Linked DNA regions of Homo sapiens: regions 2 and 3 are each linked to region 1. The links are contacts of gene promoters, found by promoter capture Hi-C in blood cells and fetal thymus (Javierre and others, 2016). All regions are on one chromosome and are shown on one strand. The core of a region is centred on a gene start or on the middle of the fragment in contact, and the rest is flanking DNA. Distances in the headings are between cores, read along the strand shown. Region 1 holds the start of SVOPL (SVOP like). Region 2 overlaps LOC124901754 (a long non-coding RNA gene). Region 3 has its middle 170 kb from the start of MIR4468.

Region 1 (3,261 bases), core at 548-3,047:
AGCAACTTGAAGTTCAGAAGGCTTGCTCTCAAATAACTCTTCTACAGTGACGCAAAGACTGAAAGGAGCCTACAACTTGAGTCCCAGTCTCTAACCAACAATGACTGTGTCCTCACTGGTGAACCCATATGAGGGAGCTCCAAGCTCAAGAGGGGCAGGCCCCTTCCAGATCCTCCCAGATGCATCTGTGTGACCCCCAGCAAGGGCAGTAATCACCACCAAAATCTTCATTTGCAATAGGTGTACAACAGGATGAATGCAAACGCCTAGTAAAGAAACTCGAATGGGTTACCCTGATAGGCATTGCACTCATTCTTTACTCCTTTTTTATCTTTTTTTTTTTTTTTTCAGACAGAGTCTCACTCTCTCTCCCAGGCTGGAGTGTGCAGTGGCGCGATCTTGGCTCACTGCAACCTCCGCCTCCCAGGTTCAAGCACTTCTCCTGCCTCATTCTCCCGAGTAGCTGGGATTACAGGCATGGACCACCACGCCTGACTAATTTTTGTATTTTTAGTAGAGACGGAGTTTCACCATGTTTGCCAGGCTGGTCTTGAACTCCTGACCTCAAGTGATTCACCCGCCTTGGCCTCCCAAAGTGCTTGGATTACAGGTGTGAGCCACCACTCCCGGCCCATCCTTTACTTCTTCTTCTTCTTCTTTTTTTTTTTTTTTTTTGAGACAGATTCTCACTGTGTTGCCCAGGCTGGAGTGCAATGGTGCAATCTCGGCTCACTGCAACCTCTGCCTCCCAGGTTCAAGTGATTTTCCTGCCTCAGCCTCCCGAGTAGCTGGGATTACAGGCACATGCCACCACGCCTGGCTAATTTTGTATTTTTAGTAGAGATGGGGTTTCGCCATGTTGGCCAGGCTGGTCTTGAGCTCCTGACCTCAAGTGATCTGCCCACCTCGGCCTTCCAAAGTGCTGGAATTACAGGCATGAGCCACTGTGCCTGGCCCTTAAATCATGCTATGGGCCCTCAGCTGGGACTCTTCAACTGCAGGTTCTTGGTCAATTTCCTTCTTGGTTCTGTGGCATACAAACAGGGATTTGCCTCTCCATTTGAAAGCCATGTTCTTGCCTTCTGGAATATCAAATAACTTGATTGCAATTTTCGACACGGCCGACTCATCAGCAGAAGCACTGATGCTGGAAACAAACTGGGAGATGACATTCTTGGCAGCATATGTGACACCCACAGCAGTTGTTGCAGTTACCAAATAGGAGAACCCTTTCCTAGCCTCGCCATCCTCTTTTGAAGACTTTGTCCCATCAAAAATCTCAATGCAACAGTAATCAGGGAAGTCAGGCACATTGATGTCTGTATGGGAATAACGAACAGAAGCAGGGACATTGAGGCCCACAGAGTTGACCCAAGACAGGCTCATGGCCTGGCCACTCAGTGACTCCTGGCATAGCAAAGGCTGCTCTTGTACAGCACAGGCAGCTTCAGGGTGGCAGGCACCATGGCCTATACCAGGGGCTACAGCATGCCTGCCACCCTGCAGGATATGGCTGACAGGATGGGCATGAACCTGCTCCTTAATTCTAAGCAATGGCTGTGAGCAAATGTTTGCAAGGGCAAAGCTTCCCTCTGCCCCTTGCCTAGGTCTTCTCTTTCAGAAATTCTTCCAGCTGTCCTGAGAACAACATAGTAATTTCCTCCAAAGTTCGGCAGCCTCTTTCAGTCTTAACAAGAAATGTAATTTCCCCTTTAAAAGGAGATCAAGTGCAGGCTGCTGAGAAGAGGGTGTGCCCTAGGTGTCATTCACTTGCCCAGAATGCGAAGTTGGCCCTTAAAGAATCCTGATCTGAGACCCGACCTGAAAGGAGAGGATAAGACCAGGGAGCCAGGCGTCTTGGGAACACAAGTCTGGCCACCCCTGAGAAGCCATCTGTGCTCCAATTTCCGTCTAAGACTTGGCCACGGTGAGGGGAGCAAAAGAGCCTGAAATTGGAAGACTGTCCAAGGAATATACAGAGGTGAGAAATTTGTGGGCAACATTGATCTGGACTTATTTTTTCCTGCTGCTGTAGAGGGTGGGGTGGGGCATTGACTGTTAGTTTGTGGCCGAAGGCAAATGGAGCATGAAAATTTCCTTGGATATTGCAAAACAAATTACATCACACATCACACACAAAACTCAGTTTAAAAAAGATCTACTGTGGCCCAATTATTTCTGGTTAAAAAACAATCAGTATAACAAAATACAATAGAATAAAATGTCAATCAGTCCTTTAGAATTTGTTTTAATGAAGCTTGAACTCCATCTGAGTTCAGGGAAAATCCCCAATCTATCAGTTTCTCACCAGGTTTTGTGAAGGTAGGTCATGGATTACTTTCCCATTGTAGCTTTTTAGGAACTTATAGTGAGGGACGCGAAGCATTCTTTTCCATGTTATTCCCTATTTTCCTGAGTTGGTCTAACTGATCATCCATCTGCCATCCATCCATCCATCCATCCATCCATCCATCCATCCTCTTACTGGGTTAGAAAGGATTTAGAATGACACAGGAAACCAGCCGGGTGCGGTGGCTCACGCCTGTAATCCCAGCACTTTGGGAGGCTGAGGTGGGTGGATCACAAGGTCAGGAGTTCAAGACCAGCCTGACCAAGATGGTGAAACCCCGTCTCTACTAAAAATACAAAAAAATTAGCCATGCATGGTGGTGGGTGCCTGTAATCCCAGGTACTCAGGAGGCTGAGGCAGAAGAATCGCTTGAACCCGGGAGGCAGAGGTTGCAGTGAGCCAAGATCACACCACGGCACTCCAGCCTGGGCAACAGAGTAAGACTCTGTCTCAAAAAAAAAAAAAAAAAAAAAGACATACGGAACCAAAGAACAGAGTATGTCAATTCAGCCTTTCCAGCATTCCATTGCTGAGTTAAGATTGCAAGCTCTATCTCTCAATAATGTTCCTCATCTCCATCTCTCAAACATGTTGTTCTCTTCTTTCTTCATGTAGCTTTTGGCTGAAACTCTAGAGACTACCAAGAAAATACATTTCATATATATGCTAACTAACTTTGAGTTTGTGTTTGAGTGTCCTTTTAATGACTTGGAGAGTAAGCCCCTTTCCAAGGTACAGATGTGAACGCTACAATCCTGATAATCTCCTGCCAACAGCCCTGTGCCCTGCAACTTGCTCCACCAAAGGAATCCTGTTGTTGAAAACTCTGTATCCTAATAGGGTGGGAATGAGGACTTTCTCTGTTGCAGGTAAACCTGTACGTTTGTTTCTTCCCCCTCTTGGCAAATTCC
Region 2 (3,261 bases), core at 434-2,933, 480 kb after region 1:
TATGCATATATATAAAACCATGATTTTTTTTTTAGTTTCTAGTGGAAAACTTTTATTTGGTTCTGTGAATAGTTATTTCATTTCCTATGCCTTTCTAGCAAGTCATCATTTGTTCCATTAATCTGGAATTCCTAGACTACCTTTGTCAGGCCCACAGGAATTGATGGGGTGCACCAGCTTTTAAAACTTAAACTGACTTTTTGGATATTAGGCTCCCTGATACTTTGAATGTATTGAGTATACTTTCATAAATAGAATTTGAGTCATTTTTCTCTCTGTCTGCCTAATTTCTCCAAAATTTGTAAACTATTTGTGAATGTTCTTAACTCATGGCAATTTATTTATTTATTTATTTTTTTGCCTACAGTTGAGTAGGGTTGCTAGGGCTGCCTAGGGAAGGAGAACCCAGAAATCTGACATGCCAGCAAAAGGGTAAGAATTTCTTACCAGTTGGACTTCTGACCTCTCTCTGTGCAAACCAATCGAATGAATGGTAAAAATCACTGTTTATCTCCTTTGTAAAGTTTTGGTTAATGTGAAAAGAAATTCTGAGGCTACTCATAAGCTGTAGCAAATCTGGGTTATTTTGTGCTATGAATTTTTCTTTCTCTGTTGTACTGTCATGAAGAGGTGTACCTTAGGATAGAACATGGGCTTAGGACCCCATAAGCTCACTGCTCGTGACAACCCAGTAGCCTGGTCAGTAACAAACTTTGCTGCAGGTCCCTGAAACAAACAAAACAACTGGATGAGGTCTCCATCTTGTTTTATGTCCCTAGGAGGTCATAGTTAGCTCTAAAAGTTGTCTTAAGTAGTTGGAAGCCTTTGCAAGCTCAAAATGAGCTACTCTAGACTCCTTCTGAAAGGAACAGTGTAGACTGTCCAATGCTGTGGCTCAGCAGCTGGGGTTTTGCCATTTTACAGTGGTGGCCTGTGTTGAGTCCTGGCTTGGGAAATGATTCCTTTCTGGTTTGATATCTGTGTGACCTTTACCATTTGTTGGTTCTTTTCCCCTCTGTGAACCATCTTGAATTTTTCTTCTCTGAGCATCTGGGAGGTTACCTTTGGTAACGTTCAAAAGCCAGAAATATTGGCCACTTCATGTGGCTAAAATTGGGTAATATGAGATTTTAAAGGATTTTTTTTTTTAAAGAATGCTGTGGTTAAGTCAGTTTAATTAAAAGTGGATTCTAACTATAGGTACATTTAAAAGGCCTTTATGTTGTGTTTTTTTTCTCTTCTTGGATCTTGTTTTTCTGGAAGAAGGTTTTTTTCTTCTCAGTCGACTGAATGATTTTTGTGGGAGTCCTAAAATTCTAGTATATTCTGAGTATATTCTATCAATCTTAATTATTACGTTAAGTTACTGTAGACCACAGAAATAACCAAATTTCCTTGTCAATAGTGTTTTTAACTACCATTATTTAAAGTCATTTGAACTCCATGGTCTTAAGTCAAATTACCTATTATAACCCATTAGTTATCAGTACTATGCCCGTAAGTTGGAGAAACAACTGGTATTCAAGAGGTCATAAGTCCAGTGTTAAGCATAGGCTCATGGAGAACTAGGATAGCCACCTTGTCCTTCCTGAGTCCTTAAAGCTTTTGTTATTAAAGGTTATGCATTCTATGACTCATCATGGAAGAGATAAAATGATCCAAATTAAATTTATACTGGAGTGCTGACTTATAAATTGCTAAAGTATTTTATAACCAATATTTGGTTTCTCAAATCCATATTCCTGGGAAGACAATCAAAGCTTCAGGTACGTTTGGCTACCTGATGGGTCACTTAAACATTTCAATTGTCATTTTCAATGCACGTTTTCTGGCTGTATAAAAGCGTTCCCATGCAAGAGGGTTGATGTTGTAACCGTAGATTATTATGCTACAGTGTATTTTCACCAGGTAAAGAAAGCTTTTTATGGTTCACTGAGTGAGGAAAATCAACCCCTTCACAGTCTAGAACCGGAAGATTGGATCTTCTGAGAACATCAGAGAAAGACTGTCCTTGCCATCCACGCTACAGCAAAACTTCGGGACCTTGAACTTGGAGTTCGTAATCTCACAGATGAAAAGGGTCCCTCCACACTCTTGGAACTGTACACCCATTGGAACCCTTAAGGTAAAGCTAACCAGGGAAGTTTCTCCCCAGAAAAAGATGGCATCCTTGATGTGAACAACTTGTCCCAACATCATGGATCAAAACTTCTCCACTATCATGAGACTCTTTGAATATTTTTTCCTTGTTTATGCCTCTATGAACAGTAGAAATGGAAAAGAGGTTTGTTGTGTGTACTTATGCGGCATACTTTTATTTGTGAAGGATTTTGCAGCCAGCCTTACACACGGATAACCTTATACTTTGGTAGATAAAAGATGAAAGCCCGATGTAGGTGAGAAAGTTTTTTGTTTTTTTTTTTTTTTTTGAGATGGAGTCTCGCTTTGTTGCCCAGGCTGGAGTGCAGTGGCACAATCTCGGCTCACTGCAAGCTCCACCTCCCACCTCAGCCTCCCAAGTTGCTGGGACTACAGGCACCGGCCATAACACCCGGCTAATTTTTGTATTTTTAGTAGAGATGGGGTTTCACTGTGTTAGCCAGGATGGTCTCGATCTCCTGACCTTGTGATCCACCCGCCTCGGCCTCCCAAAATGCTGGGATTCCAGGCATGAGCCACCACACCTGGCCTGTAGGTGAGAAACTTCAATGGTACATGTCACCTCATAATCAGTCAGAAATGGAACATTGGTTCATTCCTCTTAATCCACATCATGGGTTAAAGAGAACATTGCCAGGAGGCCTTCACTCTTCTAGAAGGGCATCATTTGTTAGGTCCTTTTTCCATGGTTTGGAGTAAAAACAATGATTAGAAATTTATCCCTCGTGATAGGCTGTACAGCAGATTCTACTGTAAAGGCTATAGTTACACAACAGACTTCAAAGACTTTAAATTCTCTTGTAAAGGTTATGATAGAATTGGCTGAATGGAAGTATCTGTGCAGCTGCTGGCACTGTGACCTATGGAGAAATGCATCAAATGAAGATTATAGAGATTCAGTGGTAGGGGATTAATGAAGGGATTGCTTATTTAGGTGAGTAGACTGTTTAGCTCATTCTTTGATCTATTTGATTTTATGTGGTTTGGTTTATGGGAACCCTGGGTAAGGAGTACACTCCAAGGTCTTGGTATTATCCTCCCGATAGTCATGATAATAGTCTCCCTGGTGAGCTGCATTATCTCAAAGGTTTTAAGTGTTGG
Region 3 (3,261 bases), core at 496-2,995, 410 kb after region 1:
TAAATGATAAATGTCGTGTGTGTTCTGCCTGCTCCAATGACTGGCTGTTGCCCCATCTCGCTCCATCTCTTTAGGCTTCCCTATTCCCTGAGACACAACAGCATTGAGAAGAGGCCAATTAATAATCCTACAATGGCCTCTTTGTGTTCAAGTAAAAGTAAGAGTCACACATCTCTCATTTTAAATCAAAAGCTAGAAATGATTAAACTTAGTGAGGAAGGGATGTTGAAAGCTGAGACAGGCAGAAAGCTAGGCCTCTTGTGCCAAACACTTAGCCACGTTATGAATGTAGAGGGAAAGTTATTGAAAGGAATTAAAAATTCTACTCCAGTGAACACATAAATGATTAGAAAGCATAGCAGCCTTATTGCTGATGTGGAGAAAGTCTGAGGGGTCTGGATACAAGATCAAACCAGCCACAACATTCCCTTAAGCCAAAGCCTAATCCCGAAGAAGGCCCTACCCCTCTTCAATCCCATGAAGGCTGACAGAGATGAAGAAGCTGCTGGGGAAAAGTTAGAAGCTAGCAAGGTTGGTTTATGAAGCTTAATAAAAGACACCAATCTTCACAAAATAAAAGCGCAAGGCGAAGCAGCAGGTGCTGATGTAGAAGCTGCAGCAAGTTTTCCAGAAGATCTAGCTAAGATATCTGATGAAGGTGGCTACACTAAACAACAGACATTCAAGGTAGAAAGCACAGCCTTCTATTGGAAGAAGATGCCAGCTAGGACTTTCATAGCTAGAGGGGAGAAGTCAATGCCTGGCTTCAAAGCTTCAAAGGAGAGGCTTGCTTTCTTGTTAGGGACTAATATAGCTAGTGACTTTAAGTTGAAGTCAGTGCTCATCGACCGTTCTGAAAATGCTATGGCCCTTAAGATTTATGCTAAATCTACTCTGCCTGTGCTCTATACATGAAATAACAAAGCTTGGACGACTGCACACCTGTTTACCTCATGGTTTACTGACTATTTTAAGTCCACGATTGAAACCTACCACTCAGAAAATAAAAGCTTCCTTTCAAAATCTGACTGCTCATTGACAGTGTACCTAGTCACCCAAGAGCTCTGATGGAGATGTACAAGATTTATGTTTTTATGCCTGCAACACAATATTCATTCTGTAGACCAAGGATCGAGGAGTTATTCTGTTGTTGTTTTGTTTGTTTGTTTTGTTTTTTGGGTTTTTTTTGAGATGGAGACTCACTCTGTTGCGCAGACTGGAGTGCAGTGGCGCGATCTTGACTCACTGCAACCTCCATCTCCCCAGTTCAAGTGATTCGCCTGCCTCAGCCTGCAGAGTAGCTAGGATTAGAGGCATGCGCCACCATGCCAGGGTAATTTTTGTATTTTTAATAGAGACAGGGTTTCACAATGTTGGCTAGGCTGGTCTCAAACTCCTGACCTCAAGTGATCTGCCTGTCTCAGACTCCCCAAGTGGTGGTATTACAGGTGTGAGCCATGTGCCTGGCCTGTTTTGAGGCTTTTAAGTCTTACTATTTAAGAAATAGTTAAGGCTATAGGTGTCATAGATAGTGATTCCTCTGATGGATCTGGGCAAAGTAAATTGAAAACCTTCTGGAAAGAATTCACCATTCTAGATGGCATTAATAACATTTGTGATTCATGAGAGGAGATCAGAATATCAATAGTAACAGGAAGAAGTTGATGCCAACCCTTACAGATGACTCTGGGAGGTTCAAGACTTCTGTGGAGTATGTCAGTGTAGATGAGGTTGGAAATAGTAAAAGAATTAAATTAGAAGTGGAGCCTGAAGATGTGACTGATTTGCTGCAGTCTCGTGATCAGACTTGAAAGGATAAGGAATTGGTTCTTACGGATAAGTAAAAAAAGTAGTGTCTTGAGATGGAACCTACTCTTGGTGAAGATGCTGTGAACGTTGTTGAAATGACATCAAAGGATTTAGAATATTACATCACCCTAGTTGATAAAGCAATGGCAGAATATGAGAGGAATGCCTCCAATTTTGAAGGAAGTTCTACTGTGGATAAAATGTTATCAAATATCACTGCATATTACAGAGAAGATTTTTGTGAAAGGAAGTCAACTGATGCTGCAAACTTCATTGTTGTCTTATTTTAAGGAATTGCCATAGCCACCACAACCTTCAGCAACCACCACCCTGATCAGTCAGCAGCCATCAACATCAAGGCAAGACCCTCCACCAACAAAAAGGTTAAGACAGGCTGAAGGTTTAGATGATAGTTAGCATTCTTTAGTAATAAAGCATTTTTAGGTTGGGCATGGTGGCTCATGTTTGCAATCCCGGTACTTTGGGAGGCTAAGGAGGATGGATTGCTTGAGCTCAGGAATTCAAAGCCAGCCTGGGTAACATGACAAAACCCTATGCCTACAAAAAGTACAAAAATTAGCCAGGTGTGGTAATGTGCACTTGTAATCCCAGCTACTCAGGAGGCTGAGGTGGGAGGATTGCTCAGCTGCAGTGAGCCAAAATCAAGCTTTGAGGCCAGGAGTTATAGACCAGCCCTGGCAACATGGTGAAACCCTATCTCTACAAAAAATACAAAAAATTAGCCGGGCATGGTGATGTCCCTGTAAGATCACGTGAGCCTGAGAGGCAGAGGTTGTAGTGAACCGAGATTGTGCCACTGCACTCCAGCCTCAGCCATAGAGTGAGACCCCATCTCAAAAAAAAAGTAAAATTAAAATATGTACTTTTTTTTTTTTTTAGACATAATGCTATTACACACTTAGGAGACTTCAGTATAGTGTAAACATAACTTTTATATGCACTAGAAAGCTAGGCTGAGGTGAGTGGATTGCTTGAGTCCAGCCTGGGCAACATGGAGAAACCCTGTCTCCACTAAAAACACAAAAATTAGCCGAGTATGGTGGTGCACGCCTGTAATCCCAGCTACTTGGTAGGCCAAGGCATGAGAATCACTTGATCCCAGGAGGCAGAGGTTGCAGTGAGCTGAAATTGCACCACTGCCCTCCAGCCTGGGTGACAGAGCGAGACTCAGAGACTCAGTCTCAAAAAATAAACAGAAAAAATAGAATAGAAAAGGCTTGGAGTTCAGAATGCCCCAGGAGTATGATGTGATCATTAACAATCTATAAAGTTGTTGGAAGTAAATGCTTGGTGTCGCCAAGTGAAAATAGTACTTAGGCAAAAGTTTTCTCAGCAAGGCAATTTACTTCTATAGAAGGGTGTGTCTCATGGATGGAGCAGTGGCAAGAGCACACAGGACAAGTGAGGGGAAGGGGCTCTTATTCCTAACAC

Evidence for each region. Contacts are between HindIII fragments. The CHiCAGO score rates a contact against its expected background, and 5 or more counts as called.
Region 2: a contact is called between a fragment that was not itself captured here and the fragment with the promoter of SVOPL in region 1, in 1 of 17 cell types (endothelial precursors). The highest score is 5.1, in endothelial precursors.
Region 3: a fragment that was not itself captured here is called in contact with the fragment with the promoter of SVOPL in region 1 in 1 of 17 cell types (endothelial precursors); the score reaches 6.0 in endothelial precursors.

Annotation. Positions count from the first base shown.
Region 1 is chr7:138,699,898-138,703,158 of GRCh38, reverse strand. It overlaps SVOPL (SVOP like), which reads left to right and starts at 1,797. Exons shown (of 16, transcript NM_001139456.2): 1 at 1,797-1,981. It also overlaps the pseudogene UQCRFS1P2. The HindIII fragment of the contact is 672 bases long and covers 1,588-2,259 here.
Region 2 is chr7:138,215,428-138,218,688 of GRCh38, reverse strand. It overlaps LOC124901754 (a long non-coding RNA gene), which reads left to right. Exons shown (of 2, transcript XR_007060555.1): 1 at 1-2,125; 2 at 2,967-3,261. Among named protein-coding and RNA genes, the nearest start is that of MIR4468, 93 kb to the right of the region's middle. The HindIII fragment of the contact is 158 bases long and covers 1,605-1,762 here.
Region 3 is chr7:138,289,996-138,293,256 of GRCh38, reverse strand. No RefSeq gene overlaps it. Among named protein-coding and RNA genes, the nearest start is that of MIR4468, 170 kb to the right of the region's middle. The HindIII fragment of the contact is 1,466 bases long and covers 1,013-2,478 here.